Linked DNA regions of Homo sapiens: region 2 is linked to region 1. Evidence: promoter capture Hi-C in 16 types of primary human blood cells and fetal thymus (Javierre and others, 2016). All regions are on one chromosome and are shown on one strand. The core of a region is centred on a gene start or on the middle of the fragment in contact, and the rest is flanking DNA. Distances in the headings are between cores, read along the strand shown.

Region 1 (6,233 bases), core at 2,400-4,899:
TTTTCCATCAGCTTTTTGTTTTTTGGGAAATAAATAAAATGACTATGAGCAAACATGAAGACAATTCCCAAACCAATTCCCAAAGACTGGTACCAGTAGCTCCTGGTGCAGAACCAACTTCAGCATGGCAGGGAACAAAGAAATGTTCAGTTATACTGAGGGCAAAAGGACAATGAGAATCTCCTAAGTTCCTCAAAGTCACTTCTGTTGCTCCCTGATGTTTACAGTTCAAAGCAGATACTTGTGCTCCTAAAACAAACAACCTTGAAGCCCTGGCCTGATCTATGGTCTCAGCCTATCCTTCAACTTTTTCTCAGCTCTTCTTTTACTTCCACTATGGTATGGCCACCCAGACAACCAGTCCACAGACTACGCCCTTATCTTGTATCTCACAATATGTGAAAAGGTTTGGGCCAACACCGTCTTCTAAATACCATCTTCAATCCCTGCCTAAACTCAAATATCCAGCTTATTTCAGCTTCTCAGTTTATCTAGGCTGTTAGCTTCCAGTCACCTGCAGTTTTCCCTAACTTTCTCTGTGTGGGTGTTACTTTATTCACTGTTTTTAGCCAATATCTCATCACTACAAACTGAAATCTCCACAGGCAGGGCCAGTGCTTAGTGTCCTGCTCAATTCTGTGTCCACAGCACTAAGGGCAGCAGTGGGTGTGGCACAAAAATTTGTCCTTCCTATTTTCAAGTCCGTATACTCTCAGGTCAGTTGTAGGCTGTGCAAGCTGTACCACTAGGTCTGATATGTGGCTCATTAAGCAAAAACAGGAGAGAATTGTACCAATGCACATTGCAAGCCAGAGTTCTGAATTCATTTTGAAGAAGTAACTTCATTTGGTCACATTTTTGTTCTTATTCCCGTGAGCAATAGTTTCCATTTAATTGGGAAGATATAAAGGAGAGTTCCCATATATCCCCACACTCAGTTTTCCTTATTATTAAAATCTTACATTGGTATGGTACGTTTGTTACAAACAATTAACAAATATGTATACATTATTATTAACTAAAATGAATATGTTAGATTTCCTTCATTTTTACCTAATTTCCTTTCTCTGTTCCAGGATCCTATTCAGAATTCCATGTTATTTTTAGTCATCATGACTCCCTAAGCTCTCTTGGCTGTGGTAGTTCTTAGACTTTCCTTGATTTTGATGATCTTGACAGTTTTGAAGAGTGTTGAGCAGGCATTTTGTAGAATGTCCTTCAACTAGGATTTGTCTGATATTTTTCTCATCATTAGATCGGAGTTAGGGGTTCGAGGGAGCAAGACCGCAGAGGTAAAGTGGAGGGTTTTTGTTTGTTTGTTTGTTTGTTTTGAGACAGGGTCTCCCTCTGTCACGCAGGCTGGAATGCAGTGGCACCATCTCGGCTCTCTGCAACCTCCGCCTCCCGGGTTCAAGCGATTCTCCTGCCTCAGCCTCATGAGCAGCTGGGACTACAGGCATCTGCCACCACGCCTGGCTAATTTTTGTATTTTTAGTGGAGACAGGGTTTCACCATGTTGGCCAGGCTGGTCTCGAACTCCTTGCCTCAAGTGATCCACCTGCCTCGGCCTCCCAAAGTGCTGGGATTACAGGAATAAACCACCATGCTTGACCTAAAGCGCCATTTTTATCACGTTATATCAAGACAATATACTATCAACATGGCTTATCACTGCTGGTGTAATGCTTTTGGGATTTATTCACTGCTTACTTTCCCACCCTTTTTCATACTGTATTCTGTAGAGCAATCACTATGCAGAGCCCACAATGAAGGGGTGGAGTTATCTGGAATTCTGCTCAGGAGATTCCTTGAAAAACTGAGATTTGTTGCACATCAGGGAAGCTGTAGGGATTGGTTTGAAGTCTTCTATTTATTGTTTCTCAAATTGTTTCAGCTTTGACCATTACAGGCATATATTTTTAATTTTTTTTTTCAGAGAGCACAGAACTTGGTACAAGCCCTAGCCCTTAGAAATGCTCATCTTAAATTTGTTACATGGACCTTCAGTTTTTCAAAAGCCTCCAGTGGGCTAGATTTTTATTGAAAATGCTTAGGATCCTCATGCTTCTTGTTCCCGAGGCTCCTGGAAACCACCTTTAGTTATCCCGTTTGGTAAGAGGGTTTCATTCTGTCTTGCTTTCTGGTAGTGAGTGGATCAGAAAGTCATAGGGCTGGGAGAAGATGGACTGGATGAGATATGTACGGATATTCTCTTTGCCACTGTACAGCGGCCATTGCAGCTCCTGCCGCAGAGCCCACGGCCCTACGGGCGGGACCCATTTTAACCTGGTAGTGACAGTGCCGCCTCATTGAAGCAGGAAGGATTTTTGTCCATGACACTAGACGTCTCTAAGCAATAAAGTAATTTTGGCAGATGCCGATACCTCTCATGTGATCTTGTTGGGAAGGTTCAGATCCTATCACCTGAGATTATTTACTCTTAAAGACCCTCTGCCTCCTTCCTCAGCCTTTCTGTTTGACAACATAAGATCGCTTTTATCTCCTGCAATGAACACTCCTAGACAAGTCATGTCCGGGTCTTGGTATCAGTAAATTTTTACTGCTGAATATTTTGGGAGAGGTTCTCAGTTAATCCCATTGAGAAAGACCAAGTTAAAGCTTTATCAGTGAGAAACTAATTACAAAATCCTGCCTTGCAAATATTCGAGCTTTTAACAGTGCTTTACTCTTTGGTATCCACGAGGTGGAGCCTTCCCGGGAAGCAGAAAGCATCTTTTGGTGTCCTGTTTTTTGTTTTTTACCCTCGGCAACGCCACGGGTGCCAGGACTAGTTGACACGCCGCCTCAATTTAAGTCATCCATAATTTATACGTTACGAAATGGAACTTTCAAAAGTGTTCCTAGCGTTAGGAGCAAAGAACGCCGGACAAACGCTCGGGAGGCGGCGAGCCTCGCGGTTCTTCCAACAACGCAATCTGTCAGCGCGGCTAGGTTGGTGCCCTCTCCCCCTGTATCGGGGCAGCCCGGCTTAGGGCCGCAGAACCGAGGCTGGGGAGCCCCGCAGGCTGTTGCTAAGAGTCCAGGGGAGGCACGGACTTACCTTATCTGCCCCTGGAAACAGATTTGCTCTTGGATCTTGCACGAAGAGCCCTGTGAGAAACGAAAAGGGAACTTGTGTGATGGCGGCAGATAACGAACATTAGGGTAGAAACTTAGGTTCTTAAAGGGAAGACAGCTTGAGTTCGGAAATGAAGATATATTCCTTCAGGAAGGCCTGTTAAAAACACGAGCTATTGCGAGGTTCCATGGTGTAATGGTTAGCACTCTGGACTCTGAATCCAGCGATCCGAGTTCAAATCTCGGTGGAACCTGTCGTTTCTTCTTGCTTCCTCACTATTTTTTTCTTTCTAAAATAAATTTCCCTCTTAGATATGATTGGCAGGAATCTCCAGTTCATGTGAACCCAAAGTATGACGCGGACTCTGTACGGGGCCCACTGACTCTCTGCTCTATGTTCAGAGCAGGAGACCCTCATACCTCCTTCATTTTACTACCCTCCTCACCACCACCTAACAGATATTCTAATACCCAAAATAATTCGAGTTGAGTTAAACTTTTTACTTGATTTATTGCTTTATGAAATGCAGTTAATTCACTTCAGAGGACAAAAAGGACTCAACAGATTTGAGGGAAAAGAAATATTCTTGTATGTATCTTTTTCCCAAGAGAATGAGGCTTTATAATGCCTTTTAGGTGCAATCACTAGAATTTATAGGTGTTTCATTTGCCACTGAGAAACAAGGATTAGTGAAAATAAATCTGTACTTTAAATAAAAATTGCTTAAACTCTCTTAGGTATTTGAACACTATTGGATCCTCACATGGTAACTTCAATCACTGTCAACACGGTAAGTAAATATCCAGATACACCTTCTAAGTGCTCTGTTGGTCATTTCTGTGACATTAACCCGCCACACAGAATTGCTGTCAATGCTGAATACGTCCCATAGAATGATAGAGCTTTAAAATTGTATCCTAGGATGCCTCTGTGATTATTTTGTCTTCATAAAACTAAATGTCTCTTGTTGCAAGTTAGTTTATTTTCTGGTAAATGTTTGGATTTGTCACAACTTAAGGAAAGACAAAGAAGTTACTGGGTCTCTGAAGAATTAAGGCCAAAGTGCTTTCCTTAGTTTGATTTTATCTATTAGTATTTATAAAATTGTGTCTTTTAATTGTGGATACAGGGTATCAGGCTATATGTTATAATCTTTTTTCATTTAATCTTATATTGCTAAAATTAATCATCTCTTTTGTTGTATGTAGCTACCATTCATTCATTGATTTCATGTTAGCTGCTGTGTAATATGAACATGCCACAGCTCATTCATTCATCTTTCCATTAATGGGAAACCAAGAGATGTTTATAATATAAATTTGATTTTGAATTATGGCAATTCTTGGGTCACAAAAATTAAAAATTATTTTACTGCAGAGGAAATTCCTGATTCTGCAACCATACATTTAATGGAGAATTTATAACTTTGAATTGTCATTTTCATTTTCCAAATGCTTCCACACATAATGATTATTTGCCCTTTTATATTGTACTACCCATTCCTTCTGATTCCTCATGCATTTTCTAGTGTTAACTGCTAGCAGCATTATGTTCCCCAGCATGGAATGCCTTTGCTAGGCCTTATGCCACCACTGCCTCTAAAAGCTTAAATATCTACCTGCATTTAGCAGATATCTATTCATTACCCTTACCAAGGCAAATGTTGCAAGAAAATAGATGCTTACCTTTAATTTAGATGGACCTAATTTGCTTCTAAACATTTCTTCATAGACTTTATTATACTTGCATAAAGATGCATCATGATAAAATACATAATTTTGGAGTTTTTCTCCCTTGTTTATATACATGTTTCTTCTGAAAGAAGAAATACATCTGATTGGAAAACTTAGGGCACATGCGTGCCATCCTAGCTACATAGAAGCCTAAGAAATTGTTTTAGACAGTTTGGACTACTATAACTATATAATGTTTGTTGACTTAAACAACAAACATTTATTTCTCACAATTCTGAAGGCTGGGAAACCCAAAATCAAGGTTCCAGCTGATTCAATGTCTGGTGAGCCCTCCCTTCTTGATTTGCAGCCTACTGTCCTCTTGCTCTATCCTCACATACTGGGGGGACAGAGAGAGAGAGAGAGAAACAGAGAGAGAGAGGCTTCCACATATGCATTTGAGTCCATTCAGTCCATAGCAGGAATTTAGTTATCACAGAACCATTGAGGATGCACAGTTCATTGGTAGAGAATTCTCCCTAGTCATATGAAGTCTTAGGCATATTAGACCACTATGTTCATCAATATGATTATCTATAATTTCTTTTCTTCCTAAACTTTTCTTTTTCCATCAATTTTCTCTTTCATTATGATTCAGCCACAGAATCTGTTAAAATAGGCCGGGCACAGTGGTTCATGCCTGTAGTTTCCACAGTTTCAGAGGGTGAGGTGGGTGGATCACTTAAGGCCAGGAGTTGGTGACCAGCCTGAGCAAGATGGTGAGTCCCTGTCTCTACAAAACTAATATTTGTTAAATAATCTGTTAAAATATTAGTTAATAATTACTAAATTTTGAGATGTAGAAACAAAATGGAACTAAAATGATGAATAACAATAATACACAAAATGGGATGTTGTAATAAGGATCAAATTATACTGGAGTCATTTATCATAATAAAAGATAATTTTTAGAACTGTTTACTGAAGTTATAATTCATGCAAATGCTGAACGAATGACTATGAAATTAGTACTTGTCTGAGGGCATGGCCAAAGCTACGCAGTAGTGCCTCTTTGCTGTGAATAAAATGCCAGGATGTAAAAATTTAAGAATTTTATTGAAAAACTAATTATTATTAGCATTATATTTAATGTATTATATTTTATATTAATATATTACTATAAGAACTGTATTATAATCAAAACTTTACTAGTCAAAATTTCAAAGGTTGATATTATTGTGTATTGATATCATTTACTAGATTTTTCTTCAGTCACCCTACAGCACAGCTGGGCCAAAAAATAGATGCCCACTTTTAACTTAGATGGACTTCATTGCTTCTAAACATCTCCTCTTTTCTTCAAAGACTTTGTTATACTTGCATAAACAAAGATTTGTCATGATATAATACAAAATTTTGGAACGTTTCCCCCTTGTGAAAGTTTAATGTGACAAAATAGACATTTTGCTTTTAAGTTATTT
Region 2 (6,393 bases), core at 1,773-4,272, 350 kb after region 1:
TCAAACAAATGTAAAAAATTAGCTGGGCGCGTGATGCACTCCTGTAACCCCAGCTACTGGGGAGGCTCAGGGAGGAGGATCGCTTCGGCCAGGAAGGCGGAGGTTGCGGTGAGCCACGATCGCGCCACTGCTCTCCAACCTGGGCGGCAAAGCCAGACCCTGTCTCAAGGGAAAAAAAAAAAAAAAAAAAAAAAAAAAGTCGCCGGGCGCTGTGGCTCACGCCTTTAATCCCAGCATTTTGGGAGGTTGAGGCAGGTGGCTCACCTGAGCTCAGGGGTTTGAGACCAGGATGACCAATATGGTGAAACCCTGTCTCTACTAAAAAATACAAAAATTAGCCGGGCTATGGTGGCTGACGCTTGTAATCTCAGCTACTCAGGAGGCCGAGGCAGGAGAATCACTTGAACCCAGGAGCGGACGTTGCAGCGACCGGAGATCGTACCACCGCACTCCAGCCCGGGCGAGAGGGAGACCCTGTCTTAAAAAAACAAAAAAAGAAGAAGAAGAAAAAGCTGTGTGTTGTAACGTCCTGTTCACGAATTCTTATGCAAATGAGGTGATTAATAAAATAGTGTGTAGGACTGGTGGCGATTCTAGATGACGTCATATACACGTTTGTCCAATCCAAAGAAGCATGTTTCATAACAGCGATTCCATTGGTTGAAATAAAACTGTAATTTGAGCCAATGGCACAGCTTTATTTTCGCGCCCAGTATTGACTATAAGTAGTGGAGCTCTGGTGAACTTCTCTCGGCTGTTCTCAGTTCCTCCATTTATCGTTTCTTCGTCATGTCGGGACGCGGCAAGCAGGGAGGCAAAGCTCGCGCCAAAGCCAAGACCCGCTCTTCTCGTGCCGGTCTCCAGTTCCCCGTGGGCCGAGTGCACCGACTGCTCCGCAAGGGCAACTATGCTGAGCGGGTCGGGGCCGGCGCGCCGGTGTACCTGGCGGCGGTGCTGGAGTACCTGACTGCCGAGATCCTGGAGCTGGCGGGCAACGCCGCCCGCGACAACAAGAAGACCCGCATTATCCCGCGCCACTTGCAGCTGGCCATCCGCAACGACGAGGAGCTCAACAAGCTGCTGGGCAAAGTAACCATCGCTCAGGGTGGTGTCCTGCCCAACATCCAGGCTGTGCTACTGCCCAAGAAGACCGAGAGTCACCACAAGGCCAAAGGCAAATAATGTCTCCATAGAATCACTTTCCAATACAACGGCTCTTTTCAGAGCCACCTACTATTTCTGCGGGAGAGCTGGGCCACTGGTTAAACATTTGGAACGTTTGTTATGAAAAGATAAAGCATTTTTCATCTAGAGCTTAGGAATGACTTTTAGGAAAAACCTTACAGGATTCAGGTGACATGTTTAAGTCAGAATGTGAACTAGTTATTTAATGTAGGGCTTACAAGAATGTTCGCTGTGTTTATTCATCTCGTGTTATATGAACTAGAACCAATAAAAAAAAATCCAGAGCCAGGCTCAGTGGCTCACGCCTGTAATCCCAGCACTTTTGGAAGCTGAGGCGGGAAGATCGCTGGAGCTCATGAATTCGAGATCTGCCTGGGCATCATAGCGGATACAAAAATTAGCCGACCGGGGTGGTGCACGCCTTTAGTCCTAGCACTTCACAGAGGCTGAAGTGGGACGATCCCTTGAGCCGGGGAGGCTGAGGCTGTAGTGAGCCGAGACCACGCCACTGCACGCCAGCCTGGGTGACAGCGAGAACCTGACTTGAGGAAAAAAAAATAATCCAGTACAGAATGACACGGTCATATCAAATTGGCATGTAATAGAGACCCCATCTTGAAACTTGCTACTATATTGTCTTGTGCGTTGATAGCATATTATATTAATGCCGAACACATTAGTGACGCCGAAGTAGCTGGTGCCTAAATGGCTTAAACGCGGAAAAACCACATACAGATGATGGAACAAAAACTGGCCAATCAGATTATAGAGCGGGCTTTTTAAAATATAAGAAGCTTCTTTGTAGCTAGGCGTCTGACAAAAAGCTTGACACCAACTTAACAAAAACCAACGGCTGGAATTCATACTCTAATAACAGACTGCATGGGTAAACTACGTGGGGAGTCCAACCAACACCCTGGACTCTTGCTTGCCTTGCGTTACTCGATTAGGGTTGAGGGAGAACTGCCCGAGATTTTTCGAATGCAAGGAATCTTGCTGCCTGATCTAACATGTTGTGCACAGCCATTTTTTAGAGGTCTCTGGGTGGCTCTGAAAAGAGCCTTTGGGGCTTTGTTGCGGTTTTCACACGCCAGCTTCCTACTTCTTTTTGGCAGCCGCCTTCTTGGCCTTTGCAGCTTTAGGTTTTGCTGCTTTGGGCTTAGCGGCTTTGGGCTTTGCCGCCTTCGGCTTAACTGCCTTGGGCTTGGCAGGACTCTTGGTTGCCTTTTTCGGTTTGGCAGCGGCCTTGGCCTTCTTAGGGCTCTTCGCCACCTTTTTGACGCCAGCCGCCGCGGGCTTCTTCGCCTTCTTCGGAGTCTTCTTCACTGCCTTTTTCGCCCCTGCAGCCTTCTTGGCCTTCTTAGGCGTGGCCCCCGCGGGCTTCTTAGCTTTAGCGGCGCCTGCCTTCTTGGCTTTGGGCTTGGCTTCCCCGGAGGCCGCCTTCTTGTTGAGTTTAAAGGAGCCAGAAGCACCAGTGCCCTTGGTCTGCACCAGGGTGCCCTTGCTCACCAAGCTCTTGAGGCCCAGCTTAATGCGGCTGTTATTCTTCTCCACGTCGTAGCCACCGGCCGCTAAGGCCTTCTTAAGGGCTGCCAAAGAAAGGCCATTGCGCTCCTTAGAAGCAGCCACAGCCTTGGTGATCAGCTCTGAGACTGGGGGCCCCGTCGCTTTGCGCTTAGCAGCGCCGGCGCCGGCAGCCTTCTTAGTTGCCTTCTTCTTAGCCGGGGATTTCTCCACCGGCGCTGGGGTGGCTGTCTCGGCAGGAGCGGTTTCCGACATGGTGGCAAGAAACTGCTAGAAGAGAATAAGCTCGAAATCTAAAGAGCAGGTTTTGCGTTGCTGCTATGCTCGGGCCCCGGGCTTATATAAGCCGGCGCTGCCCTGTGATTGGTGGAGCGTCCAATCCACCGCCCTCTGGCCGCCGCCGCTCGCGGTTGGACTCCCAAATTGTGTTTGTTAGTCCTCAAAATTTGATTAAATGCTTAAAACAATGGTACAGAATTTGGCACTTTGAAGCTCCAAAGGAGGAAAACAGCCTCCAGGTTCACATACTTGTTTGTGTTTTCAAGAATCTTGTGCAATTGATGAAAGATATTTTAAAAAATCCCTTCAGCTTTTCATAAGAATCCATTGGGCTGAGGGCATCATGTTAGTTAGTAGCGTGTCGCGATAAATTTCTACTAAGTATCCAGTGAAAGTTATTTTTAAAAATTTGCCCATGAGTTCATGCTTTGATTTTTGCAAGAGAAAAGACACTGGGTTCCTTGGTTTGGGCATGAAGTTTGTTTCTAACTGTAGCAAGTAACACAGGCACAGGACAGCTGGTTGCCTACAGCCCCAACTTAACCACATAGACTTGACTTTACAAACTGGTTCTGTGTCCTAGGAGTTTCCATGTGCTAATGTCTTTACAGAATGGGATTTTGCAGCTTGGAAGAGTTCCACAGTCAGAGTGACTTCTTCTGCATTGCAGCACCAGTAATACAAATCGCTTTGACTTAAGGATCTAACTACTCAGATTCACATTCAAACTTAAATGTGTTATGTTTTCTAATTAGAGTGTTTTCTCTTTTTAGTTCCTGGGCAAATCCATTAAAAAAGGGGAAGAAAAATAATATAGATAATTCAGTTTAGAGAAAACTCAAACTTGTGGAAAATTATTCAAGAGCTCCCAGTGATCCTCAAATGCACAAACTGTTTAGGTGGCCCAGGACACTGTCAGGTTTTCGAAATGTTCTCACTGCTCCCCCTGAATCTCCACCCACATTTAACAAGCTGCACCATCAGGAATACTCTCTTCTATGAGCAGCCAGGATACATCAATATGGGTATTTTTGTGTGTTTTAGCGCTAATATTTTAGAAGAATATCTGGCTATTGACTGTGAAAAGGTTGGATTGGATATTGAGCGACTTCACATTATAGAGGTTCAGAGGAACTCAGGAAAACATAGGCAAATACACTGAGGTTGAAATAAATGAAGTTTACAATTTATGGGAGGTGGAGGGGATTGGACAGGATGCCTGGATGATAAAAATGATCAAATGATGATTTGGATTCCTAATGAAATCAACAGTCACTTATTTCTCATTCTTGAAATGCTGTGCAAGAAAATTTAAAGTAGCCAATGCACTTCATCTTCTAAGAACTCCTGGAGAAGTTGGCAGACTATGGCCAAATCTGGACAATGGCTTTTTTCTGTATGGCCCTCAAGCTAAGAAGTGTCTTTATGTTTTAAAAGTATTGTTAAAAAAAAAAAAAACAAAAACAAAGGCTGGGCACGGTGGTTCATGTCTGTAATCTCAGCACTTGGGGACACTGGGATAGGTGGGTTGCTTGAGCTCAGGAGTTGGAGACCAGCTTGGGCAACTTGGTAAAACCCCATCTTTAATAAAAATACAAAACATTTTGCTGGATGTGGTGGCACATGCCTGTAGTCTCAGCTACTCGGGAGGCTGAGGTGGGAGGATCACTTGAATTCAGGGTGTCAAGGCTGCAGTGAGCAATGATAGCAGCACTGCACTCCAGCCAGGGCAATGGAGCAAGATCCTGTCTCGAAAAAGCAAACTAACTAAAAACTAAAGAGTGTGTGACAGAGACTATATATGGCCTTTAAACCCTAAGCTATTTATTACCTAGCCCTTTTGCTGTGTTATAAATTTCTCCACAGAGACACAGATATTGTATAGGCCTCTTACCGAACAATGCAAATTGAGAACTAAAGAAAAGGAGATCTTCATGAGCAAATGATCTAACCAAGCACTTTCCACTGTTCCAAACACAAAACTTAGAAGGTCCAGGAGAAAAAAACCCCAAAACTCCATGTGTAATGGAGCCAGGGTATAACAATAAGAGCTGACACTCATTCAGCATTTACTACCTGACAGGAAGTAATCTTAAATATGTTCTACAGGTTTCTATTAATTTGCTACATTTACAGCTATACAAGATGAGGCCCAGATAGAGAATTAATAACTTGTCAAAGGTTATACAGCTATGAAGTGGCAGCTCTAAATTTTAAACCTAGAAACATGGCCTCAGCTCTATTATGGAGGGAAAATCCTTGAAGAGGTGAGAAGAGAACTATCTTCAAAGCTTGGAAGAGGCAGTGTCAAGTTGTTCCTACACCTAGCAAACAGCCACTAAAAGAGCTCTAAGTTAATTGTGGGAAGAGGCTTCTGGCCCCATGGATCAAAAGTGTTTTTTTGTTGTTTGTTTTTCTGAATCAAATCTTAAGTTTCCAAAAACTTTATACCTGTATCCAACCCTTTGAATGTGAGGACTTTTTTGTTCATCTGTGATGGTGGATATCACAAAAATTATGCACAGACTTTTCTTTCTTTCCCTTCCTTCCTTTTTTTTTTTTTTTTTTTTTTTTGAGACAGAGTCTCACTCTGTCACCAGGACTGGAGTGCAGTAGCGTGATCTCGGCTCACTGCAACCTCAGCCTCCCAAGGAGCTGGGACTACAGGCGCCTGCCACTATGCCCAGCTAATTTTTTGTATTTTTAGTAGAGACGTGGCTTCACCATGTTGGCCAGGCTGGTCTGGAACTCCTGACCTCGTGATTCGCCCGCATCGGCCTCCCAAAATGCAAAGTGCTGGGATTACAGATGTGAGCCACTGCGCCCTTCCTTTTTCCTTCCTTCCTCCCTTCCTTCCTTCCTTCCTTTGTTTTCTTTCGTCAGCTATCTTTAGTGATCCTGTATTTTAGGTGTGGCCCAAGACAATTCTTCTTCCAACGTGGCCCAGGGAAGACAAAAGATCGGACACCGCTGCACCAGTTGCTGGGATACATGCCTCTTTGCAAGAGTGAATCCAATATGAGAAAGGAAGGCACAGATATGAGGCTGAGCTGGCTGAGAGCACTAGGGAGAAAAATTGCCTTCACATCTCTGCCAGATATCTCCTAGGTCAAGATGTGTGCTTCAAAAAGTTTAAGAGCAAAATGAGGTCATGATAGTCACATATGTAGAGCACATGAGGAAACTCTAAAACAGCTGGAAATAATGGAAAAGTTTGGTTAGAAACCAGGAAGAGCTTTAAAATACCACTTGAAGTTTAATACCCAGACTGATTCTCTCTGAAAAAAAAAAAGAAAGAAAAAATCTCATGAAAATCCAACTCCACAGTCTATGACAAGCATATGGTGAAATGACAGGAAAATATTTTTTAAGGTCCACTTAGAGCTAGAAGTTCATTTCATAGAT

The links. The method cuts DNA at HindIII sites, captures the fragments that hold promoters and counts their contacts. A CHiCAGO score of 5 or more calls a contact.
Region 2: the fragment with the promoter of H1-5 here is called in contact with a fragment that was not itself captured in region 1 in 1 of 17 cell types (monocytes); the score reaches 5.2 in monocytes.

What each region holds. Positions count from the first base shown.
Region 1 is chr6:27,516,269-27,522,501 of GRCh38, forward strand. TRQ-CTG1-2 (tRNA-Gln (anticodon CTG) 1-2) reads left to right here and starts at 3,261; the gene lies at 3,261-3,332. RefSeq lists an enhancer at 2,614-2,903 and a silencer at 3,294-3,343. The HindIII fragment of the contact is 2,065 bases long and covers 2,618-4,682 here.
Region 2 is chr6:27,864,566-27,870,958 of GRCh38, forward strand. H1-5 (H1.5 linker histone, cluster member) reads right to left here and starts at 3,023. Exons shown (of 1, transcript NM_005322.3): 1 at 2,227-3,023. The coding sequence starts at 2,964. The coding sequence ends at 2,284. H2AC16 (H2A clustered histone 16) reads left to right here and starts at 752. Exons shown (of 1, transcript NM_003511.3): 1 at 752-1,233. The coding sequence starts at 790. The coding sequence ends at 1,182. RefSeq lists enhancers at 373-442, 503-572, 770-1,291, 2,843-2,952, 3,213-3,282 and 4 more. The HindIII fragment of the contact is 3,270 bases long and covers 2,008-5,277 here.